Linked DNA regions of Homo sapiens: regions 2 and 3 are each linked to region 1. Evidence: promoter capture Hi-C in 16 types of primary human blood cells and fetal thymus (Javierre and others, 2016). All regions are on one chromosome and are shown on one strand. Each heading gives the region's core, a stretch centred on a gene start or on the middle of the fragment in contact. The rest is flanking DNA. Distances are from core to core; before and after follow the strand shown. Region 1 holds the start of GNB5 (G protein subunit beta 5). Region 2 has its middle 16 kb from the start of MAPK6-DT. Region 3 overlaps LEO1 (LEO1 component of Paf1/RNA polymerase II complex).

The links. The method cuts DNA at HindIII sites, captures the fragments that hold promoters and counts their contacts. A CHiCAGO score of 5 or more calls a contact.
Region 2: a fragment that was not itself captured here is called in contact with the fragment with the promoter of GNB5 in region 1 in 11 of 17 cell types (naive CD4 T cells, naive B cells, total CD8 T cells and 8 more); the score reaches 8.8 in naive CD4 T cells.
Region 3: a contact is called between a fragment that was not itself captured here and the fragment with the promoter of GNB5 in region 1, in 1 of 17 cell types (M1 macrophages). The highest score is 6.7, in M1 macrophages.

Annotation. Positions count from the first base shown.
Region 1 is chr15:52,189,777-52,194,544 of GRCh38, reverse strand. It overlaps GNB5 (G protein subunit beta 5), which reads left to right and starts at 3,153. Exons shown (of 13, transcript NM_016194.4): 1 at 3,153-3,223. MYO5C (myosin VC) reads left to right here. Exons shown (of 41, transcript NM_018728.4): 41 at 491-2,223. The coding sequence ends at 643. The region is part of intron 2 of CERNA1 (competing endogenous lncRNA 1 for miR-4707-5p and miR-4767); the gene reads right to left. RefSeq lists an enhancer at 2,556-3,055. The HindIII fragment of the contact is 7,593 bases long and covers 1,607-4,768 here.
Region 2 is chr15:52,000,329-52,005,071 of GRCh38, reverse strand. It overlaps a transcript of MAPK6 not described here. Among named protein-coding and RNA genes, the nearest start is that of MAPK6-DT, 16 kb to the left of the region's middle. The HindIII fragment of the contact is 2,222 bases long and covers 752-2,973 here.
Region 3 is chr15:51,948,724-51,953,352 of GRCh38, reverse strand. LEO1 (LEO1 component of Paf1/RNA polymerase II complex) reads left to right here. Exons shown (of 12, transcript NM_138792.4): 8 at 90-224; 9 at 1,374-1,509; 10 at 3,359-3,545. Among named protein-coding and RNA genes, the nearest start is that of LEO1, 21 kb to the left of the region's middle. The HindIII fragment of the contact is 6,257 bases long and covers 54-4,629 here.

The sequences.
Region 1 (4,768 bases), core at 1,904-4,403:
CATATACACAATGTATATTTAATTACTAATATGGCAAATGCCAATATACCCATATACACAAAAGCTTTTGGGGCCTCAGTCATGTTTTAGTATAAAGCGGTCCTGAGACCAAAAAGGTTGCAAACCCATGAATGAAGAAGAAAGATGGGTTCAATAAAAATGTAATACTTGAAATCTACTCATGTTTGACCTTAGAATTATGCCATGAGAATAGATTAGAATAGAAAACAGATTTATGGTCAACTCATCCCATGGGAAATTAACTTCTGAAGTGAAACAGGACAAGTTAATTGTTCTGAGAGCTGATCTGGAAGCCCTGGATAGACTTTGGAATTGTGCTGTTGTTAAAAAGTTCTCATGTATGTCATTTCATGTGATGGTGCAAGGAGCTCTCCACTAGAGATAGCTGTGTTTTGCCTTGACTTTCAGGTAGCAGTAAAGCAGAACATGTTAGTTTCCTTACTCATTTTTCCTCTGATTCTAATTTCAGGCTCTCCTAAATAGCCGGGAGGATTCATCACAGCTGATGTTGGATACCAAATATCTCTTTCAAGTCACATTTCCTTTTACCCCCTCTCCACATGCTCTGGAAATGATTCAGATCCCCAGCAGTTTCAAGCTAGGCTTTCTGAATAGGTTATAGCAGGAGAAAAAGTCAATGCACTTTTTCTTCAAAAGCTAAGTGAAGGTTCAATATGAGGGATGTGTTTTATTAATTGGCAGTGGAAATTGGAATGTGATTTAAGGAAGAAAACAGACTTTTCTCAAATGGACCACATCATCTCTCACTCACAGTGACAATGCTGCTCCTGTAATTTTGTAAGAATTCACACACACCAGCTGTATTTGGAAAAGCCATGTCTCACTCTCGAATCTCAGCTGGTTTTCACTGAAATTCCTGGAGGGCTCATATTTTCTTCCACGTGCCTCTTGATCTGTTCTGTCTTGTGGCAGGGCTCTACCAGGAGGGAGTGAGATCTGGGGACACAGTGGCTTCCAAGTTTTCTAAGGTTCATGTGAAACCTGAGTACATTTACAAAGCTGCAAGTGGATTCTAGTGCTGAGTCTTCCAGGAAAAAATCCCGTTTGGCCACCGTGACCTGCCAAAAGTTCTCTTGCCCCATGCCTGCTGGGGACAGAAGGTTTTCATGAACTCTTTTTACTGAAAATGCCCTGCATTTAAAAATGTTTATTTTAGACCCTTCTAAATTTTTTTTTTTTTTTTTTTTTGAGACTCCGGAGTCTCGCTCTATCGCCAGGCTGGAGTGTAGTGGCATGATCTCGGCTTATTGCAACCTCCGCTTCCTGGGTTCAAACAATTCTCCTGCCTCAGCCTCCTGAGTAGCTGGGACTACAGGCACCTGCCACCACGCCCAGCTAATTTTTGTATTTTTAGTGGAGACAGGTTTCACCATGTTGGCCAGGATGGCCTCGATCTCTTGACCTCGTGATCCGCCCACCTCAGCCTCCCAAAGTGCTAGGATTACAGGCGTGTGCCACCGCGCCCGGCTGACCCTTTTAATTTTTAAGAGTGTTCAATCCGAGATGAATCATTTGAAGTATTTTTATATGTATATCTATTTAAAACTAATATATTATTAAAGCTTAATTGCCATGCCGTTTATCTTCTCTGAAAGAACTTCAAATCTTACCTGCCAACATATTCACCATAATTTTTTTATTTTTTAATACCTTTCATACAATAACTTTTTTAAAACAACCTCAGATTGAAAAAGCAACCTAAATTACTTTCGCTCTCTAATCAGCATTTCAATGTATTTATTTTTAAATTTTCTCAAAAAGTAACTAAAAAATTGTGTCGGACCCTACTTTTGAGAAATCTACGTTTCCCAAGTTTTATGGGAACTGGCTATTCCTTGTCCCGGCACACCTTCTCATTCCTTCCTTTCAGAGCCTAAAACCTCATTTGATAAGCACTCCTAGTCTCTGGCCTGTGGATCCAGTGCTATTCTGTCACCAACCTAAGAATCCCAATTGCACCTTCTGTTTCTGACAGTCACAGGTGACAGCTGTGATTCTATAATACAGACTGGTGTCTTAGAGGTAGGAATAATACATGATTATGAAGCATCACCCTGCTAATACATAATAATGTCTTTTTATATTATAAGTGATTGAGTTTAGTTCATTTCAATACATTGTACATGAAAAAATGAAAAGTAGAACTTTGTAATACTTTAATCAATAAAATTAATTACCAAATGAATTGGGTCAGATTCTTTCATTGCGAGGAGATGACATGTCTCTTAAGTGTACAAGTTGTATGCCTTTCTTTACGGTCATACTGAAAGATGCTAGAATCTTTATAGATTCATAATATCTCATTTAAAGTATATTAAAATGTTTAGAGAAGAAGTAAATATGTCATAAGTGCTGGCTTAGGCTGTGTCTCCAGGGCGCTTCCACACTGTCAGAATGAGGGGCTACTTGGCAGAGAATTGGCAGGGTTTCTGATCCTGAGCTGCGGCCTCCATGCCCTTTCTAGACCTTCCCCACACCATGAGGAGCCATCACTGTTGGTTTTCGGCTTCCATAACTCAGGATTTATGCCTGTTTTATAGCACTTACCCTGGACTGGAAGCCAGAAATGCTGCCCATTTCCTCTGTAGGCCTGTGAGCCCCAGAGGGCAGGTGCCACATCCTCCTCATCCCTGCCTTCATCCTACTGCTGATGAGGTGGGAAGAGAACTGAAGGAGCAAAGTCCCGTTGGAGGACTGTGTGTGTGTGGTGGGGAGTCAACCATGGGAAAAAGTAGGTCATGTTTGGGGACAGGGAGACCTGTGGAGGCTGAGGAGTTTATGTGTGGAAAAATGGGGAAAGGGAGGCACTCATCCCACAGTCTTGATCAGTTCTACAAAGCTGACAGTGGCAAGGAGACCAAAATAGAGAAATGTTAAGAACATGTGGCCCAGGTGAATGTGAGGGCTGCTCAGTGAGTGGGCGCAGACACAGAGGTCAAACCTGCCAAGGCCTCCCTCCACAGAGGGGCTGGGCAGGTTCCAGGGGTGAGTGAGGGATGCAGATGGCAGTGCGTGCCCAGCAGGGAGCATGGAAGTGCTGTGGAGGAAGGAAGCAAGCTGAGCAGCACTCCAGAGAAGATAAGGAGATTAGCCAGTGGGAGACGTGCTTCACACCTCAAGCTGCGCGCTGGTCCTCACCTCTCACCATCTGCTCTGTGGCTCCCAGTGCTGACTCTGGAAGGTATGTGCATGCTGACATTCGGTTAAAATACTCCAGCTTTTGAAATGCTCAGAAAAGCATCCAGATGAGTACAGGGCACAGTGTTAGCAGGTCTTTCTGTGCGGTGGGAGCATGGGTGAGGGGTTTTGTTGTTGTTAATCCGTAGAATCTAATTTTTCTACAATACACATGAATTTATTTTGAAATAGTAAATTTCAAATATTTCAAATTGAAATATTTCAATATTTTTTACATTAATATTGGCATCAGGAAAGAGATTAAGCATACTTAAAATCACTAAGTCAGTTTTAAAATTTGATCCAGGTGACACATGGCAACATAAGCCTCTGAGTACAGCTTATGGGGTTAGAAAGAGGTTTTTAGTTGTAAGTCTGAGATACATCCACATTGTGTGTATCAGTTATTTTTTATTCTATGCTCATTTCACAGTTTCGTCTGTGACTGGTGAACATTTGGGTCTTTCAAGTTTAGGCCTTCTATGAATAGCTGCTATGACATTTATGTTTTTTTTTTTTTTTTTTTTTTTTTTTTTTTTTTTTTTTTAAGGAAATAAGCATTATTTTCTGTGGTGTATGTATGCACGAGTAGAATTGCCTGGTCATAGACTATATCCGTTTCACTTTAGTAGCTCCTACCAACCAGTTTTCTACAGTGGTTATACCGACTTATACTCCCACTAGCAGAGAAAGGCAGTTCCAGTCTCTGCATCCTTGCCCACACTTTGTGTTGTCAGGCTTTTTAGGTTTTCTGATGGCTAAGTAGTTGTATCACATCGTAGTTTTACTTTGTATTTCTATGATGACTAATGATAATGAGCACCTTTTTATATGTTTATTGACCATATAAGTATCCTCATTTGTGAAGTGACTACACAAGCCTTTTGTCCATTTTAAAAATAATCTTTGGGCTGGGCGCGGTGGCTCATGCCTGTAATCCCAGCACTTTGGGAGGCTGAGGCGGGCAGATCATGAGGTCAGGAGATTGAGAGCATCCTGGTTAACACGGTGAAACCCCATCTCTACTAAAAATACAAGAAATTAGCCGGGTGAGGTGGCGGGCGCCTGTATTCCCAGATATTTGGGAGGCTGAGGCAGGAGAATGGCATGAACCTGGGAGGCGGAGCTTACAGTGAGCCGAGATTGCGCCACTGCACTCCAACCTGGGCGACAGAGCAAGACTCTGTCTAAAAAAAAAAAAAAAAAAATTTATTGAGATATGATGTCCACGTTTTGTTTCATGTTTTAAAACCCATCATTTTAAAACATATATTTCAGTGTTTTTTAAGTTTATTTACAAGGATTTGCAACCATTGCCACTGACTCCAGAGTATTTTCATCACCCCGAAAAAGAAATCCCATACCCCTTAAGCAGCCACTCACTCTCAGCTCCCTCCTTCCCCCTTATTCTCTCTTCCCTCCACCTCGCAACTACTCATCTGCTTCATGTCTCTATGGATTTGCTGATCCTGTACACTTCATATAAATAAATCATACAATATGTGGCCTTTTGTGTCTGGCTTCTGTCATAGGATAGCGTTTTTAAGGT
Region 2 (4,743 bases), core at 613-3,112, 190 kb after region 1:
TGTAGCGTTCACATGCTTATTTACCCCTCAAAGAAATGTCGTCCAACAGTGAAACATGAGGCATGCTCAAGCATGTTGCTGCAAAGGAAGAAGGTCAAACACAGTCTCTGCCTGCATCTCTCCACAGAAAGCAGGAGTCCCTTCCACGCTCAGCCTCAGAGCGACAGAAGGGAAAATCCAGAGTGGGGTTGCTATGGTTTGAACGTGTTCCCCAAAAAGCGTATGTTGGCAACTTAATCCCCAATGCAGCAGTGTTGGGAGGTGGGGCCTAATTGGAGGTGTTTAGGTCATGGGGGCTCCACTCTCATGAATTGAATCATGCTGATTATAATAAAGCTGGAAGCTTCAAGTTCAATGTCTTGCCCTCTGGAGATCGTTCTTGCCCTCTTGAGATCACTCTTGCCCTTCTGCCTTCTACCATGAGATGATGCAGCAAGAAGGACCTCATTAGATACTGTCCCCTCTTAGACTTCCCAGCCTCCACAACTGTGAGCCAAATAAATTTTTTTCCTTTATAAATTATTCAATCTCAGGTATTCTGTTATAAAAAGCACAAAACAGACTAAGACATGGGTGTAGCTGAGAGGGCCAGTGAGAAAGGGAAACAGGGGCAACTATATAACCCCTCAGATACCAACAACCGCTATAATAATAAATGGATCTACTTACATGAAAGCAGCTTATAGCAATCTCCTTTAATTAGCCCGTGGTCCTTTCTAACAAAGAAAAATCCCTTCCACTTTTAGAAGCTTCTGATGAAGGCTTATGGATACTGCTTCCAAAGGAAAGATAAAAGGCAAAGCATTCCTAGGGAAAAGGAGGAAAGACGTATTTGTAAAATGATTTAGCTGTACAGCAGGTTATGAAGGAGTGAAAAGGAAAAGATTAAAATGGTTCTTTCCCTCCTCCCTCTGTGACTCAGATTAATCCTAAAAATAATCTTCATCCCAGTATGAGACGCTTAGTAAAGACTCACATCTCCACAGACCAATTTTCATGATGGTCGTGGGGAGGAAAGGAACAAAAGGAAAAGGGAGATAGGGAACAGGAGCTACTAAAGGTAGTCTAGAAGAGACTTCACCTACTCAGAAGAGGTGAGGTGAAATTAAAGGCCAGTGTAAATGTGAGGCAATAAGCATTTTGCATTCTTGCCCTATTCTGAAGTCTTGGAATTATATTGCATCAGCAAAGATGAAACTTCAATTTACTGTTTCACTCTTATCTCTCACTAATTCTTCTGGCCATCCCTATTTTACTCATTCAAATGAATTTTCATCTCTTCAACATCATGCTCCTTTCTTTGCATCAGCAACAGGAGGCTCTTGACATTTTTTCAGTCACATTTAATTTGTGTAAGTCTGTCCATTTGTTTTAAAAGCATTTTATTTTTAAAGTTTTTCAAACTAACAGAAAAGTTGCGCACATAGCATAATGAATTTTTACCTGAACAATTTGAGAGTCAATTGCTGACATGATACCTGTGGTGGATGTTGAGATGCTTTGACCAGATCCCCCTCCAAGGAAAGACTTGCTGCCCTGCTGTGGGGACTGTGCTCAGCACACAGCTGTCAGCTACCATTTCCTTCCGGGTTTGCCTCATGTGCAGAGAGCTACCTTGCCCAAGAAGATGTGCCTTTTCTGGGTTGCCCAAATCTGATGACTGATCAAGGCAGAAGTAGAAAGGTGATATGGTTTGGCTCTGTGTCCCCACCCAAATCTCATCTCAAATTGTAATCCCCATAATCACCATGTGTCGAGGGAGGGAGCTGGTGGGAGGTGATTGGATGATGGAGGCGGGTTTCCCCCATGCTGTTCTCGTGATAGTGAATGAGTTCTCACGAGATCTGATCGTGTTTTTTTTGTTTGTTTTTTGGTTTTTTTTTTAAGACGGAGTTTCCCTCTTGTTGCCCAGGCTGGAGTGCAATGGTGCAATCTCAGCTCACTGCAACCTCTGCCTCCTGAGTTCAAGCAATTCTCCTGCCTCAGCCTCCTGAGTAGCTGGGATTACAGGCATGCACCACCATACCCTGCTAATTATTATATTTTTAGTAGAGACGGGGTTTCACCATGTTGGTCAGGTTGGTCTCAAACTCCTGACCTTGTGATCTGCCCACCTCAGCCTCCCAAAGTGCTGGGATTACAGGTATGAGCCACCGCGCCCGGTGATCTGATGGTTTTATAAGTGTTTGACAGTTCCTCCTTCACATACACTCTCTCTCTCTGTCTCACCTGCTGCCACCTAAGATGTGCTTGCTTCCTCTTCCGCCATGATTGTAAGTCTCCTGAGGCCTCCCCAGCCATGCGGAACTGTTGAGTCAGTTAAACCTCTTTTCTTTATACATTACCCAGTCTCAGGTATTTCTTTATAGCAGTGTGAAAACACTAATACAAAAGGCCTAGCTATTTTGCCCTGTCAGAACAACTCTGATGATCCACTTCCTCTGGAGAGATTCCTGTGTGGGGTTAACTGAGGCTATCAGCCTGCATCTCAGATCAACTTCACCCTCTGCCCAATCTTATTTCCTTTCCCTGCCATTCACAGATGTCGATCCCAAGGGCCCTCCCTAATAAATATCCTGTACACTGAAGTCCGTCTCAGGATCTGCTTCCTGGAAAACCCAAACTACCACAGTCAGAGCCAGGAGAGGTCTGAGAAAGCACAGATAAGATGGAGTTTTGGAACTGGGTCACTCATCCACCTAGCTGGTAGGGAGGACCTGTTACTGGTAATAGATGGAACCCAGATAACCCCTGGCAGAAGGTGGCGGCCAGGTACTAAAACTTTCACTAGTGGTGAACTGGGATTGTATACCAATGGAAGAGAATGTATTAGCTCAAGCAATATATGGCAGAAATAGTAATTCTAAGGACAATGGGATTATATGGTTATTGCTCACCTCTGTTGAAGCTCTAGGAAAAGAAACCAAAAGGCCGAGAGAGTAAACACCAGGCAACTAGAGCCAAATGAAAGCTTTCGCCAGAGGGTCTCTGGTAGCATGTAAAGAGACTTTCGTGACCTAAGGTGGGAAGGCAGAGAATGCTGAGGACAAGACCCAGACTAAATCATCAGTGTAGCCAAACTCCAAAGAAGATTAAACTACCAACCAAATTAGGTCAGGGTTCTGGTTGGGAAAGAGTGAGACTCTGACACATGGGACAGGGACATCTGGGTTGATGCCCCCCAAAATCTTGAATTCCCAGATTCCTCTTGACCCTCTGAGCCTACAGAATTGAGTCATTCTTCCCTATTAAGGGCTACATGCGGCCAGGAGTGGCGGATCACGCCTATAATCCCACCACTTTGGGAGGCTGAGGTGGGCAGATCATTTAAGGCCAGGAGTTTGAGACCAGCCTGGCCAACATGGTGAAACCCTGTCTCTACTAAAAATACAAAAATTAGCCAGGTGTGGTGACTCGTGCCTGTAGTCCTAGCTACTCAGGAGGCTGAGGCAGGAGAATCGCTTGAACCCAGCAGGAGGAGGTTGCAGTGAGCCGAGATTGTACCACTGCACCCCAGACTGGGTGACAGAGTGGGACTCCATCTGAAAAAAAAAAAAAAAAAGAAAGGAAAAGGACAAAGGTATACCATTCAATTCCCAGTTTTGAAACTTACTACAAAACTATGGTAATGAAAAGTGTGGTACTAGCAAAAGGATAGACCTACAGACCAATAGAGTAGAATTGAGAGTCTAGAAATAAACATGTATATCTATGGGTGTCTTAATTTGCTTGTGTGCTATAACAAAATACTTGAGACTGGGTAATTTATAAAGAACAGAAACTTTTTTTCTTGCAGTTCTGGAGGCTGAGAAGTCCAAGCTCAAGGTGCTGGTAGGTTTGGCTGTTTGGTGAGGGCTGCATCCTCTGGAGAGGAGGAATGCTATGTCTTCACATGACAGAAAGTGGAAGGCAAGAGGCTGAACACTGCATGAAATGTTTTTCATAAGGGCCGTAACCCCATTCACGAGAAAGGACCCCCTCATAGCCTCAGTCACCTCTTACAGTCCCCACCTCTTAATGCTATCACATTGGCAACACCTGAATTTTGGAGAAGACACATTCAAGTCATAGCAATGGGCAATGGATTTTCAACAAGAGTGCCAAAACAGGGAGGGTGGTAGGGGGGTGAGGGATAAAAGATCACCCATTGGGGACAATGTATGCTACTAGTGTGATAGGTACACTAAAAGCCCAAACTTCACCACTATACAATTCATCCATATAACCAAAAAACAACTGTACCCCTAAAGCTATTGAATTTTTTTTTTTTTTGAAATGGAGTCTCTCTCTGTCGCCCAAGCTGGAGTGCAGTGGCGTGATCTCGGCTCACTGCAACCTCCGCCTTCTGGGAGATTCCCCTTCCTCAGCCTCCCCAGTGGCTGGGACTACAGGTGTGTGGCACCATGCCCGGCTAATTTTTGTATTTTCAGTAGAGACGGAGTTTCACCATATTGGCCAGGCTGGTCTCAAACTCCTGAAGTTGCGATCTGCCTGCCTCAGCCTCCCAAAGTGCTGGGATTACAGGCGTGAACCACTGTGCCCAGCTATTGAAAAGTTTTTTAAAATGCCAGAACAATTATATGAGAAAAGAATAGCCACATGCAAAAAAATGAAATTGGACCTTATCTCATACAGTACACTAAAATTTAACACAAAATGGGTCAATGCAAGAGCTAATACTACAAAACTCCTAGAAGAAAACTTAAATTAGGCAATGGGTTCTTAGATACGACACCAACAGCA
Region 3 (4,629 bases), core at 1,933-4,432, 240 kb after region 1:
CTGTGCCCAGCCTGAATCACCTTTAAGTGAAGTAAGATGGTAGAGTGAAAGCTTTATGACTTTAATAGATGAAATGTTTCTCTTTCCAGCATGTCCCTGCATTTAGGCAATGAAGTGTTTGATGTGTACAAAGCCCCACTGCAGGGCGACCACAATCATCTTTTTATAAGACAAGGTACTGGTCTACAGGGACAAGCAGTCTTTAAAACGAAACTCACCTTCAGGTAACTGTTATTATTATTATGTATTATTTCTTATGGTAAAAGCAGTGAAACATAGATGTTTCTGTAATGCCTGCCACCTGATTGATGTAACCCCACGGTATGATTCAGCAAGAACCAAGATCTTGTGCATAGTTCTGAAGGTTCAAAGGTTATTTTGTCAAATACACTAAAAGTTGCTGTTTCTTAGGGAACCAGGTCATGCTAACCAGACTTACAAGAGACTGTTAGGTAAACCAGAATGTCAATGTATTTAATTCCAGTGGTTATTATAACTGCCAAGAGGCCTAAAATACGTGTGTCTGCTAGCCAGTGTGTCCTTTGTTTTTAGTAAAATTGACCTGGGAGACTAATAACTAGAGGTTGTTGTTGTGCATGCAATCGAAGGAAAGCCAGCAAGTTGGTCAGTGTGAGACGGGCCATCTCAGTGCCGTAGGCCCCGGCATCTAATACCACTGCAGAGGTGTGTCCCCCAAGAGGACAGGAATACTCAGCTGGTGAGGGCACTTTCCTTCTCTAGACTGAGTATGTGCTGCACTGAGATGTTCATGCTTCTCTTTCTTGATTATAAGCAGACCATCCTCTTTGGGTAATGCTTATCTTTAGAGGGGGCACAATAATGTTGGTTATGATTTAGCTTTTTGAAATTATAAAGGTTAACATACAGGCTTTGGAATCAGTTAGACTCATATTTGAATTCCATTTCTACTTGTGTGACCTTGTGCCACTTTCTTAACCTCTTTTTGCCTCAGTTTCCTAAATCTATAAAATAGGATAATTATATTAATATTAATATATTAATATTAATTAAAAGTAATGGCAAAAACCGCAATTACTTTTGCACCAACCTGTAGTATCTAATTAATGTTGCTTGAGCGTATCCATTTATTGCTTCTAGAAGGTGATCATGCCATACAATCTTTTTTACTCCAACCTTCTGTTTTTCATTTGTGGAATAAGAATGTCTCAGTGAGCCACAGAATGAAGAAAACTCACAATCTTCCACCTTGGTATATTCAGTCGAGTGTCTCTGCCTATTTTTTCAGGTGACTAGGAAATGGTCACTGGGCTCTTACTTCTGTGACGTGGGTATCACTGGCTCACAAATGTATTTGGTAAACAGTGATATGCTCTTCGTTTATTTCCTGGCAGACCTCACTCTACGGACAGTGCCACACATAGAAAGATGACTCTGTCACTTGCAGATAGGTGTTCAAAGACACAGAAGATTAGAATCTTGCCAATGGCTGGTCGTGATCCTGAATGCCAACGCACAGAAATGATTAAGGTATGTTTGCTAAGCCTAAGCGTTATCCTGGGATTCTTTGGTATATTAGGCAAGTATTTCCCAAAATGCTTGTTCGTCATCTCTTATTGGCCTACCTTTTCCTCTTCCAACTGACATGAATAGGGAGCTGGATTCATTTCCTCAGCATTTGCCAAACAATTGGTGACGTGGCAATGATAGTAAAACAGAAACAGGGCTCAGGTTCTCTCTTCACCAGGCCCTGAGAGTTCAGCAACAAACCGGTGATTGAAATATCTGAATTTTCATGTATAAGTTCAAAGATCATTAAGTCATCTATGTGTGGTTTAGAATCCATGTCAGAAGTCAGTGGAGATACTAGAGAGTAGTGTAAAATAGAGAATAGACCAGGAGTTTGAATGAGAGAGTGCCTAAAGTAGACTCTGGTAAAGAATAAGACGAGCTTATGAGTTTTTAAGGTCAATTTGTAACATTCTACCTGGTATATTTTCAAATTTGACCCAGCTGTTAATTAGGCACAAGTTTATTTGGGGCATTGTACCTAATCGATAGAGCATGTGCTCATATTGGCTATTGGCCTTTCCTGCAGCACTTGATTTGAGAAGCCATATGCAGTAGTACAGGCTCATCATTTCTCCTCTCCATCTTCTCTAATCCCTACTAGATTTTGGCCTTTGCCCACCCTGCCTCTTGTGATTACGTTGTTTAGTGAAGCAGGGCATGGTGAGGCTAAGACAGTCCAGTTACCTCAGGGCCTTTCTTACAAATCTTATGGTCAGGCTCTGCTGAAGGTTTGGCTCTGAGCCCTTGCTTTTTCCTCCATCCTGTATTTGTTCATGGAGACAGATTAAACCAGATCTAATAGCAGTACCTAACCTAGTGGTATATAGCGGCATTTGCTTTGGAGCTGGGCTTGTTCCATTTCCCCACCTTTTCTGTACAGACTAAGGGAACTGGAGGAACCTGCAGATTCCAGTCTCAGCATTATTGGAGAAGCTCTTGAACCACTTTGAGCATCTCCCCACACCCTCCTCCATGTCCCCAGCTCCTGTGAAAATGTAGACTAGGAGTCAGCTGGTTTGTTCTTAGTCCCTGTACTACTGACAGTGATTTTTACTCTAACCTCCGTACAGCCACATACTATTAAAACAATCTGTTCCATAGAATTTCTAGCAATATAATTGGAGTTGTATATGATAATACAGAGCAACGGGATGAGGAAGACCTTCAAAGAAATCCCAGAATATCCCTGAAACCTACTCCAACACCACCCCTACCCCCAACCTGGTTTAACATCAAGGTGCAGAATGCCAGGCAGTGCAAAGGAAATGAAAGGTCTACCTTGTGGCTCTAGGACGCTCCCCAACCTGTCATCAGGAGCCGTGAGGAGCTCTCTGGGTTGAGGGGCTGAGGGGCTGGGACCAGAATATCTGGGAACTATGGGAGTTTGGTAGAGCTGGGGCAGATCAGTTGTCTGTGGTTCAGGGATGAACAGGAACAGCCACTGCTGCTCCAGGGAGTCAATTTAGGTTTCTGCTGGGCATGAATGGGGTTTCTCAGGCGGGTTGCTTCTCTCTGGGTTAAGTGGCAGCACAGAACACCAGCACAGCTCCCGAGGACACACCTGTGCCAATGCCAGTTGGGCCGGTTAGTGTCAGGGCTCCCTTCTGCCGCTTTACCCTTGTGTTGCCTTTGCTCCTGCAAACCAAACCAGAGGGTCCCTGTGGAGCCACAGAGGTGGGATGGGGAACACACACGGCACAGCTGTTATCTGGACCAGACATTACATGCTATTTGTAATAAAAGTGGGTTCAAGTGGGCACAAAAGTAGCTCCTTTTTAGGTTAAAGAGGTTATTTGCTTCTTTACAGAAAGAAGAAGAACGTTTGAGGGCTTCCATACGTAGGGAATCTCAGCAGCGCCGAATGAGAGAGAAACAGCACCAGCGGGGGCTGAGCGCCAGTTACCTGGAACCTGATCGATACGATGAGGAGGAGGAAGGCGAGGAGTCCATCAGCTTGGCTGCCATTAAAAACCGATATAAAGGGGGCATTCGAGGTGAGTCGTGTATGGAAATTACATTTCATCATTTCGGGATTCTGGACTTCATCTTGGCATTAGATGTAATCCGGCTGCCAAGTCACTGGACTTTTTTTTTTTTTTTTTGAGACGGAGTCTCGCTCTGTCACCCAGGCTGGAGTGCAGTGGTGTGATCTCGGCTCACTGCAACCTCTGCCTCCTGGGTTCAAGTGATTCTCCTGCCTCAGCCTCCCGAGTAGCTGGGATTACAGGTGTGCGCCACCACACCTGGCTAATTTTTGTATTTTTAGTAGAGACGGGGTTTCACCATGTTGGCCAGGCTGGTCTCAAACTCCTGACCTCAAGTGATCTGCCCGCCTTGGCCTCCCAAAGTACTGGGATTACAGGCATGAGCCACTGTGCCTAGCCCGGACATTTTATTTTTAAAGAACGAGTTGTCATGAGTGACCTAGTTCATTCAGGTGAGCTTGAAAGGTAGGAACTGCTGTTGTTCCTACTTTGGGTTTTATCCCTTGAGCTTTTGCTTTCTGACTTGAGAATTTGCCAGTTATACTGGAACTTTTGTCAACCTTTTTTATTACCTAATTGGGAATCAAGAAATTAAACTATTCAGAAATTATGTGATATTTTCTTTCATTCTTCTTCTACATTTCTCTTAGATTTACTTTTGCATATTTCCTCCTTTCACAAGTATCACTGATTTCTGATGGTTAACGTTTTTTCCACACATACTGAATTTCAGGCAAATGCTCAACACTTGACATGCATCCTGTTTGATCCTCATAACAACATTATGATCTAGTTGCTCTTATTTCCTTGTTTTTATTGAGGAAACTGAGACTTTGAGAGGTTGACTAATTTGCCCAAAGGCACGTAGTTGCTAACTGGTCAGTTCTTAAACCAAAGTCATCTGACTTCCGAGACATCTGTCCCAGCCGTGACTCTGCATCCACCTGGTTCTTACCCAGGGGTTCCCCCAAGCCAGTAGCAAGACGACATGGTGAAAAGCGAACTAAGAAGACCTGGCTGGCCTTCTGACCCTGCCCGCTCTCATCTGAGTCCTGCCACTTTTTAGTTGTATAACTTTTGAAGAGTTACATAG